Linked DNA regions of Homo sapiens: region 2 is linked to region 1. Evidence: promoter capture Hi-C in 16 types of primary human blood cells and fetal thymus (Javierre and others, 2016). All regions are on one chromosome and are shown on one strand. Each heading gives the region's core, a stretch centred on a gene start or on the middle of the fragment in contact. The rest is flanking DNA. Distances are from core to core; before and after follow the strand shown.

Region 1 (4,259 bases), core at 152-2,651:
CATTGTCGTTGAGGGATTACACTGATAAAGCTACTGGATAGGACATTCTGCAATATTTTCAGAAATATTTATAAAAGCTGCATTAAAACATGTAAAAATGCTTATGTTAAAAACAGTATGACTACTATTCTAGTATGACTACTATTCTAGTATGACCACTATTCTATTTAATAGCAATAGTAACATTATCATCCATAGGGGAAAATTGGAAAACAAGCAAATACAATAAAATGTCAACTGTATTTGTGTTAATGTGATGAGACTCATTGGTGTTTTTTCCTTTTCGGCCACTTTCCTACATTTTCCCCAGTTTTCTCTAATGATAAACATTCTTTTTATTTCTCTTAAAAAAAAACACCATGCGGACTTTTCTAAGTGTTACTTTGCCATACGTACGTGGCAGGGGAGTTATAAGGAGTAAATGAGCAAATACACGCAAATTACCCAGCACGGTGCCTGGCATAAAATCGGCGCTCAATGAGTACGAAGCGTGAAGGGTCGCCGGCCCCGCGTCCCCGCCTTGCAGGAGCCCGGACCCGCCGAGCAGGCTCCCGGTCCGGCCCGGCCCGGCCCGGAGGCCGATGCTTCGCGGTAGTGCCCTCGCGGGTCCTGCGGACTCGGCGCCCGCGGGGCCCACAGCGCTGCCCAGCCTGTGGACGTGGAGCCCGGGCCGCACCGCCGCACACGCCCCGGGCATCTCTGCGCTACGTCGCGCGCCCCCACGGCTCCGCCCCGTGGCGTAACCCGGGGCGGGGCCGCCACCTCCGATTGGCCGGCGCGCTGTCACCACGTCGCGGGAAGCTGGCAGGGTGTGTGTCTGTGTGCGTGTGGGGTTTGCTTTGTCATTCGTACCCCCGGTGCGCGCTGACGCGGTCGGCCTGGCCGAGCTCTCCAGCATCCGCAGAAGGGTCCCCGGCGCTGTTCCTGGGATGCTCCCTTACATAATGACGCGACTGGCTGAAGCGCACGTCAGCGCAGACACCGCACATGCCGCAAACCCGGGCCTTCCGATTTCATACATTGCTAGACGAGAGCCTACAATGCCATGCCGTACGGTATGCTCTAGTAGGGATTACAATACAATGAAACGCAACCCAATAATAATAAAGCATACCTTCGCAACAAGGCGTAATATAGGATGTTATATTTATAGGGCCTATTTATAAGCCTCTATTTAAATCTTTTCTGATAGGCTCAGCCGGGGACCCAGACACTATAATGATTGGCGCATTCTTCCGTCCTTCAAAGGGGCGGGTTCTAGAGTCAGTTTTGCCTCAGCGGGCCCTGGGATTGGCCGACAGCGGTTTACCGGTGGCTTCTATTGGCCTCCCGGGCCGTCCGTCGGAGCCGAGGAGGCGGGGCAGGCGGCTGGCTGGTGCTGGGCGGGCGGGCCCCGGAATTGTCATTTCTTTGTTTCCGAAGGCGGAGGAGGCTCCGAGCCCCCCCTCCCCGTGCTACCCCCTCCCCCCGGGTGCTGGCTCCATGTCTGTGTGACCGGCCTCAGGGGTAGAGTCCAGGCCCGACGCGGGGCGGGCCAGCGGCGGCGGCAGCTGAGGTGAGAGACGGCGGCGGCGGCGCGGGCACCCGGCCCCCCAGCGGGAGGATGAAGCGGCGGAACGCCGACTGCAGTAAGCTCCGCCGCCCCCTAAAGCGGAACCGGATCACCGAGGGCATTTACGGCAGGTGAGCGGCTGCACCCCCACTCCGCGGGCGCGGGCCCTGCGGTCCCCCTCCAGCTCCGAGGGGCCTGGCCCCGTTATGTAACCCCGAGTAGGCCGCACGCCCGCGCCGGGGGCTCTCCTAAGGAGCGCTGGCCCCGGAGCCGCTGGCCCGCCCGCCGGGGTCCGCCCCGGGTGCGCGGGGCGTGGCGAGGGTCGGCCCGGCCGGGCGGGCAGGGCGCGGCGGGCGCTGGCTGAGGGAGCCGCCGCGCCGCCGTTGGAAGCGCCGGGCCCGCCGGGGGGAGGGGCGGAGAGCCCCCAACCAGCCCGGCGTTCCTCAGCATCCCGGCCATGCCGCTGGGCCGGGAGGGCCGCTTCCGGGACCTCTGACTGGCCGCCGCTGGCCCCCGAGCCCCCCGGTGGCCTGGGGGCTTGCCGGCCGGAGCCAGGAGGCGCGTGGACCACAGCGCGGGGGGGTGGGGGAGGCTGACAAAGTTGAGAGCCCACTGTGGCCCCTCGTTCCCCCAAGCTGCCAGCATACTGGCCTGGGGCCATGCTGTCACTTCTTTCACCTTCTGCTTCCCATATGGGATCTCAAACTTGGCACCCAGGGCTGAAGCTGATACCCCCAAATCATGCCCTGTGGCCCTGCTCCAGATTCGGAAGGGTCTGATGACCAGTTTTTCAGCAAATATTGTTTTGACAATTCCAAGCAGATAGCTTGCTTTGAACGTTTTTAAAAAGGGATTTTCTCCAAACTCTTTTTTTTTTTTTTCATCCGCAAGAAAAGCAGTGTCCCTTTAAATAGAAATTGAATTCAGTCCACCGGTAGAGAAAGACAACAGGTTCATGGGGCAACTTACTATCATAGCTTCCCCAAGTCGATTTGTGTACGACTGTTATTTTCTGGTTCTTCTCAGAATGTTACTTGTAAATGGTATTTGCCTTGATACAGATTTCGGTGGAGAAGTAATTAGTTTACAAAGAAGAATTCTCAGCATGTGGATGTAGGCTTAATTGAGTCCTCATGGTGTTTTACAATTAGCTTCTCTAGCTGTGGGATTTCAAGAAATATGTGAGGTAGCTGATGACACCCAAGTTGTCTTAACATAACTGTACACCTTGCACATGCTCTTGTTTACAGATGTGGAATGATTGCTTTCCACAAGCAGCTGACTGATGTAAACACTGGGGATTTTCTTCAAGTTTAAAAGCATTAAGGAATCAAAGTAAAAATTTCTTGGGTATATTCTTATAAAATGAGCCATAGAGCATAGGAGTAATTCATTCATTCATCAGTTATATATACTATGTGCCAGGAACATTTCTAATCAGTGAAGATAGAGCAGTGAGTAAAACAGACTCTAATCTATGCTGGATGAATCGAACTTGACCATTTTAACTTGAACTGTGAAAGCAAACAATTTTTTCTACACATAGATGGAGGAAAGGTCTCTTCAATTCACGTTACATACACTATACATTCTTGAATTAAAGAAAGTTTTTCCCCTTTGGCTATTGAAAAATATTTGACCAACTTAACATTAATGGTAACATAAAAATAGGAAAGGGATATTAAACCGAGTTGGTAGACTTAGCACAACTGTGGCATTTGAATAGCTGCTATTTACAGTAACATAAGATGATGTACCTCCATTTATAGCAAGAAGATTGAGAGTCCCATATTGTTTACGTGTTTTCTGCTGTATTTCCATTTCTCTGTACTTGAACAAATAGACCCAGTTTACAACCTGCGCCATAATAGCTACTCAGTGTGAATCGATGTGAAGAAGTGAATTCATCGTTTAATGAAGATTTATCATCTTACTGATGGCTTTTGAAATTTGAATTTTCTTACCCTAAAGGTTAATTGTAAATACTCTTTGCAAGTTATTCAGAGGTTCATCTGCAAAATTTTAAAAACCGACAGTGCATTAGCCTTAAATCTTCTTATGCTTCTCTGTTTTGCATTCTTTAAGTTAAATGTTAATAAAAGACCTAAATGTATTTCTAACTGTCTTTCCTGGTTGGAGTATCATATATCAAATGAGCGTTTCAACTCACTTATCTGTTTCTTGGTTTATATTATGGAGTATTGGACTGAAGAACAAGATTTTTTTTTTTTTGCCCAATTCTGTTTTTAAAGAGATTTAGAAAAATTTCCTGTTATTTCTAAAGCAAACAGGATGAGTGGACTGGTTATAAACTAGAATGCTTGAGGATTCATGAATATCAAATTTCTGGTGATCATCAAATTTAAGTCTATGCTAAGTTGTTTTTCACACCATCTATTGCCCATTTTGTTTCTCAACAACATGTGGCCAATTTTGGATTCATTAAACAGAGAGCCTTGTTTTTTTTCTGGGGCCGTGTTGACAGTTTTGATAACCACTGTCTACTGTTTCATAGCCAAACCTTTCATGGACTTACTATTTTCATGTTCTCAGTCTGTACAACTTTCTGAGCCTTGGCATAGGAAGGAGGCAGCTGTGGTGAAAAGCGCACTGGACTGCAGGAATCAGGAGACCCAGGATCAGACTCAAAATCCCAGCTCTGCTGCTTTAGGCAGACAGGGCATCCACAGCTTTGAGCCCCAGTTCT
Region 2 (3,833 bases), core at 255-2,754, 360 kb after region 1:
ATCACCTGGGAGCTTGTTAAAATCCAGGTTCATGTTCAGCGGCTCTGGCATGGAGCCTGAGATTCTGCCTTTTTTTTTTTTTTTCCTGACACAGGGTCTTATTCTGTCACCCAGGCTGGAGTTCAGTGGGGCCATCATAGCTCACTGCAACCTCCATCTGCAGGGCTCAAGCAGTCCTTCCACCTAGCCTCCTGAATAGCTGAAACTACAGGTGTGCCGCCACATCCAGCTAATTTTTTTTTTGTCGCTACATTTCTCAGGTTGGTCTCAGAATCCTGGGCTCAGGCTATCCTTCCGCCTCAGCTTTCCAAAGTGCTAGGATGGCAGGCATGAGCCACTGTGCCCAGCCAGATTCTGCTTTTCTCTAACAAGCTCCCGGGAGATGCTGATGCTGCCAGTCCTTGGACCACACTTTGAGTAGCAAGACCCCAGTTGGTGGCCACTGCCTTGGTTTCTGCCTTTTATTTGCATCCCTGGAGCTGTAACTGCTCCAGAGTGGAGTAGAGGGGCTCAGGTATTAGGATAGCATCTATAGATACCTTGACTGCAAAGCGACCTACCTTAAAACAGGTGTGTGCCTGCCACCTATGTCAACAGCTCTCCATTCTTCAGGACAGCCAGGATAAGACAGGAGCAGGCTGCTGGTGGCTTAGAACAGTGGCGTCCAATAGGGTCACCCCATGTGGATCTGGAATACTTAAAATGTGGCAAGTGCAATGGAGGAACTAAACTTTTAATTTTATTTCCTTTTTTTTTTTTTTAATTGACCAGAGTCTCGTTCTGTCACCAGGCTGGAGTGCAGTGGCGCGATCTCGGCTCACTGCAACCTCTGCCTCCTGAGTTCAAGCAATTCTCCTGCCTCAGCCTCCCGAGTAGCTGGGACTATAGGCGTGCGCCACCACACCCAGCTAATTTTTTTTTTTTTTTTTGAGACGAAGTCTTGCTCTGTCGCCCAGGCTGGAGTGCAGTGGCTTGATCTCGGCTCACTGCAACCTCTGGCACCCGGGTTCAAGCAATTCTCCTGCCTCAGCCTTCCAAGTAGCTGGGATTACAGGTGCATGCCACCACTCCAGGCTAATTTTTGTATTTTTAGTAGAGACAGGGTTTCAGCATCTTGGCCAGGCTGGTCTTGAACTCCTGACCTTGTGATTTACCCGTCTCAGCCTCCCAAAGTGCTGGGATTACAGGCGTGAGCCACCGCGCCTGGCCAATTTCATTTCATTTTAATTAAATTTAAAGAGCTATGCATTGCTGCTGGCTGCTGTTTTGGACAGTGCAGAATTAGAACTCAGAAAGCAACTACCCTGTTGGTGCTGCAAAGACCTCCATCACCTGCACCACTACATAAATCATGTTAGCAGAAAATACATTGTTTAGGGACTCAAGGATTCCCTTGAACATACCTGGTTATTTTTATACTCATCCCAGCCTGTTTTCTGCACAAGCCTCTGAGTTTGGTTTTGTTTTGTTTTGTGTTTTCTTACTCACTGTCTGCAGCAGGGCATGCAGTGGGTAGGCTGAAGGCAAGAGAGGCAGAGGGGTGCGACAGGAGAGGACAACCCATGTCGGTTTCATACAAGCACAACATTTGAAACTGGTGGACCTGTGTTCAGCTCTGCCCTGCCCTTTTCCAGGACTGTGTGGCCTTGGGCAAGCCCCTTAGTTAAGCTCCTCTGAGCCTCTGCTTTTCCATCCATGGAAAAGGAAAGTGCTTTCAAGGGTTAATCGAGCCTCCCCACCCCACCCCTTGTAAGAACTCAGTGCATCCTAGCAGTGATTGTTATGATGTGAACCTCTTTGTAAACTATAAAACCTTGTGTAAATGTGAGGCAAAACACTGCTGTCAAAAATTCTTCTTTTTAAACAAAATGCTCTGAAACTTGGGGGAAACCGCATCAACCAGGCCCAGGAGACAGACCAAAATCTCAAAGCAATAAATCTGAACGTTTTCTGCTTTTCCCATTGAGGAAGCATTTTGCCATTAGCTAGCCCTGAATCTACAGAAATTGGGAAACTGGGATGAAGATTTGTTGACTGTCCAAGGTCTTCCAGGGACCCGTCTGGTGGTGGGGGATGCTCGGGCAGGGGCCCAGGGCTGAGGAAGATGCCGAGAGCTTGCCCAGGAATGTTTGAGGTCCAATTAGTGTTTCCTCTTCATGGAGTACCTGATAAATCCTGTCTACAAAACTTTGGAAGGGAGATGGGCAGGAAAAGATGGCACCCCCATTTATAGAGGAGGGAACTGAGGCCCTAACAGGCTTGCTCCAGGGTCAGGCTCTGCAGCCCTAGCCACCTCCTGGGTCAACTCCTACATTGCTGATGTCGTACTTTCACCTTCTCCACTGTTGAATTAACCCTAGCCCAAATTTCTGGAGCATCTGCTCTTCCAAAGTCTGACTCAATAGAGATGAGATTCCCAGCAGCTGCCCGAGGTTAGAAAATACCAGCACACTCCTTTTCCTCTGGCAGTTATCCTAGCAAAATCATGCTCCCAGAACCCAGATAACCCAGATCCACGATGTCCTCGCCATCCAGGGACCAGAGCAAGGACAGAGTGTAAACAGCAGAGAACGGAGAAGATGTGGGCCAGCGCCATACCCCTCTGGGCCACTTCTCAAAGAGAGAGACCTTCAGGGATAATTCCATCGTCTTGCACAAGTTACAAAATTTCAACTGTGGCTTTCCCAGGTCTTAGGACCTGCATGGACCACCTTCTCCAGGAATTGAGTTCGCACGGAGATCACTAGAGATGGAGAGGTCAGGGATGGCCCCTGGGGAGCTGACATTTGTGACAGGCTGTGCAAAGAGCATTCCAGGCAGAGGGAACAGTGAATGCAAAGGCTCAGAGGCAGGAAGTGTTGTTGCATCTGAGACACAGAAAGGCAGTAAGCGAGTGGGAGGGTCTGGGGGGTCAAAGGAAGTCGGCAGAAGGGGTTCCATCCCTCAGTGCCTGGTGGGCAGGTAAGTACTTGCTGTGGTTTGAATGTCCCCTCCAAAACTCATGTCGAAATGCAATTGCCTTTGGATGGTGTTAAGAAGTGGAACCTGGCTTGTTAAGAGGTAATTAGACCATGAGGGCTCTGCCCTTGTGAATGCATTAACGTGGGTTGTTCTGAAAGCCGATTCAGCCCTCGCTTGCTTGCTTGCTTGCTTGCTTGCTCTCTGGCACTCTTCTGCCCTTCTGCCTCTGGCCACAAGTGGACGCAGCACGAAGGCCCTTGCCAGATGCAGGCCCCCAACCTTGGATTTCCCAGCCTCTAGAAATACATTCCTTTCTTTATAAATTATCCAGTATGTGGTTTTCTGTTATAGCGACATAAAATGGACTAAGACAGAGTTTAATTTTAATCTGAGAGCAGCAAGAAGCTAGGAAGAGTTTAAAGCAGCACATGAGATGACCCACTTTACATTTCTGAAAGTTTCCTCCGACTTCTGAGTGGAGAGACCTAGGAATTCTTTTTCCTCTCACATCTGTCTCAGTGGAAAACCATTCTCAGATTCCTAAGCGGAAGCTTCTGAAGCCTGTGCCCCAGGAGTGCCGCGAGGCCCGAGTGCCCTCTGCCCTGTGTGCATGACCTCTCCTCTGCTTTTTTACTCCCTGGGTTTTGAGGAGCCTGGGAGACTTCAAGGGCACCAGAAACCTTTCCTCTGACCCTTCTTCCCTGTAGCCGTGGATCAAGCCTCCAGGCTGCTGCCCCCTCTGTTTCTACCACTCCTTTCAAGCGGGCCCAGCTGCGCTTTTAAAAAATGGAAGCTGCTTCCCAAGGTGGCCCGGCTCCTTCTCTCGCACATGCGCCAACGGAGGCTGTTTGTGGGGCCTGGGGCCTTCTTTT

The links. The method cuts DNA at HindIII sites, captures the fragments that hold promoters and counts their contacts. A CHiCAGO score of 5 or more calls a contact.
Region 2: a fragment that was not itself captured here is called in contact with the fragment with the promoter of MACO1 in region 1 in 2 of 17 cell types (M0 macrophages and M2 macrophages); the score reaches 5.7 in M0 macrophages.

Annotation. Positions count from the first base shown.
Region 1 is chr1:25,429,496-25,433,754 of GRCh38, forward strand. It overlaps MACO1 (macoilin 1), which reads left to right and starts at 1,402. Exons shown (of 11, transcript NM_018202.6): 1 at 1,402-1,683. The coding sequence starts at 1,604. It also overlaps a transcript of RHCE not described here. RefSeq lists silencers at 428-867, 1,258-1,917. The HindIII fragment of the contact is 6,345 bases long and covers 1-4,259 here.
Region 2 is chr1:25,787,858-25,791,690 of GRCh38, forward strand. No RefSeq gene overlaps it. Among named protein-coding and RNA genes, the nearest start is that of SELENON, 10 kb to the right of the region's middle. The HindIII fragment of the contact is 4,012 bases long and covers 1-3,510 here.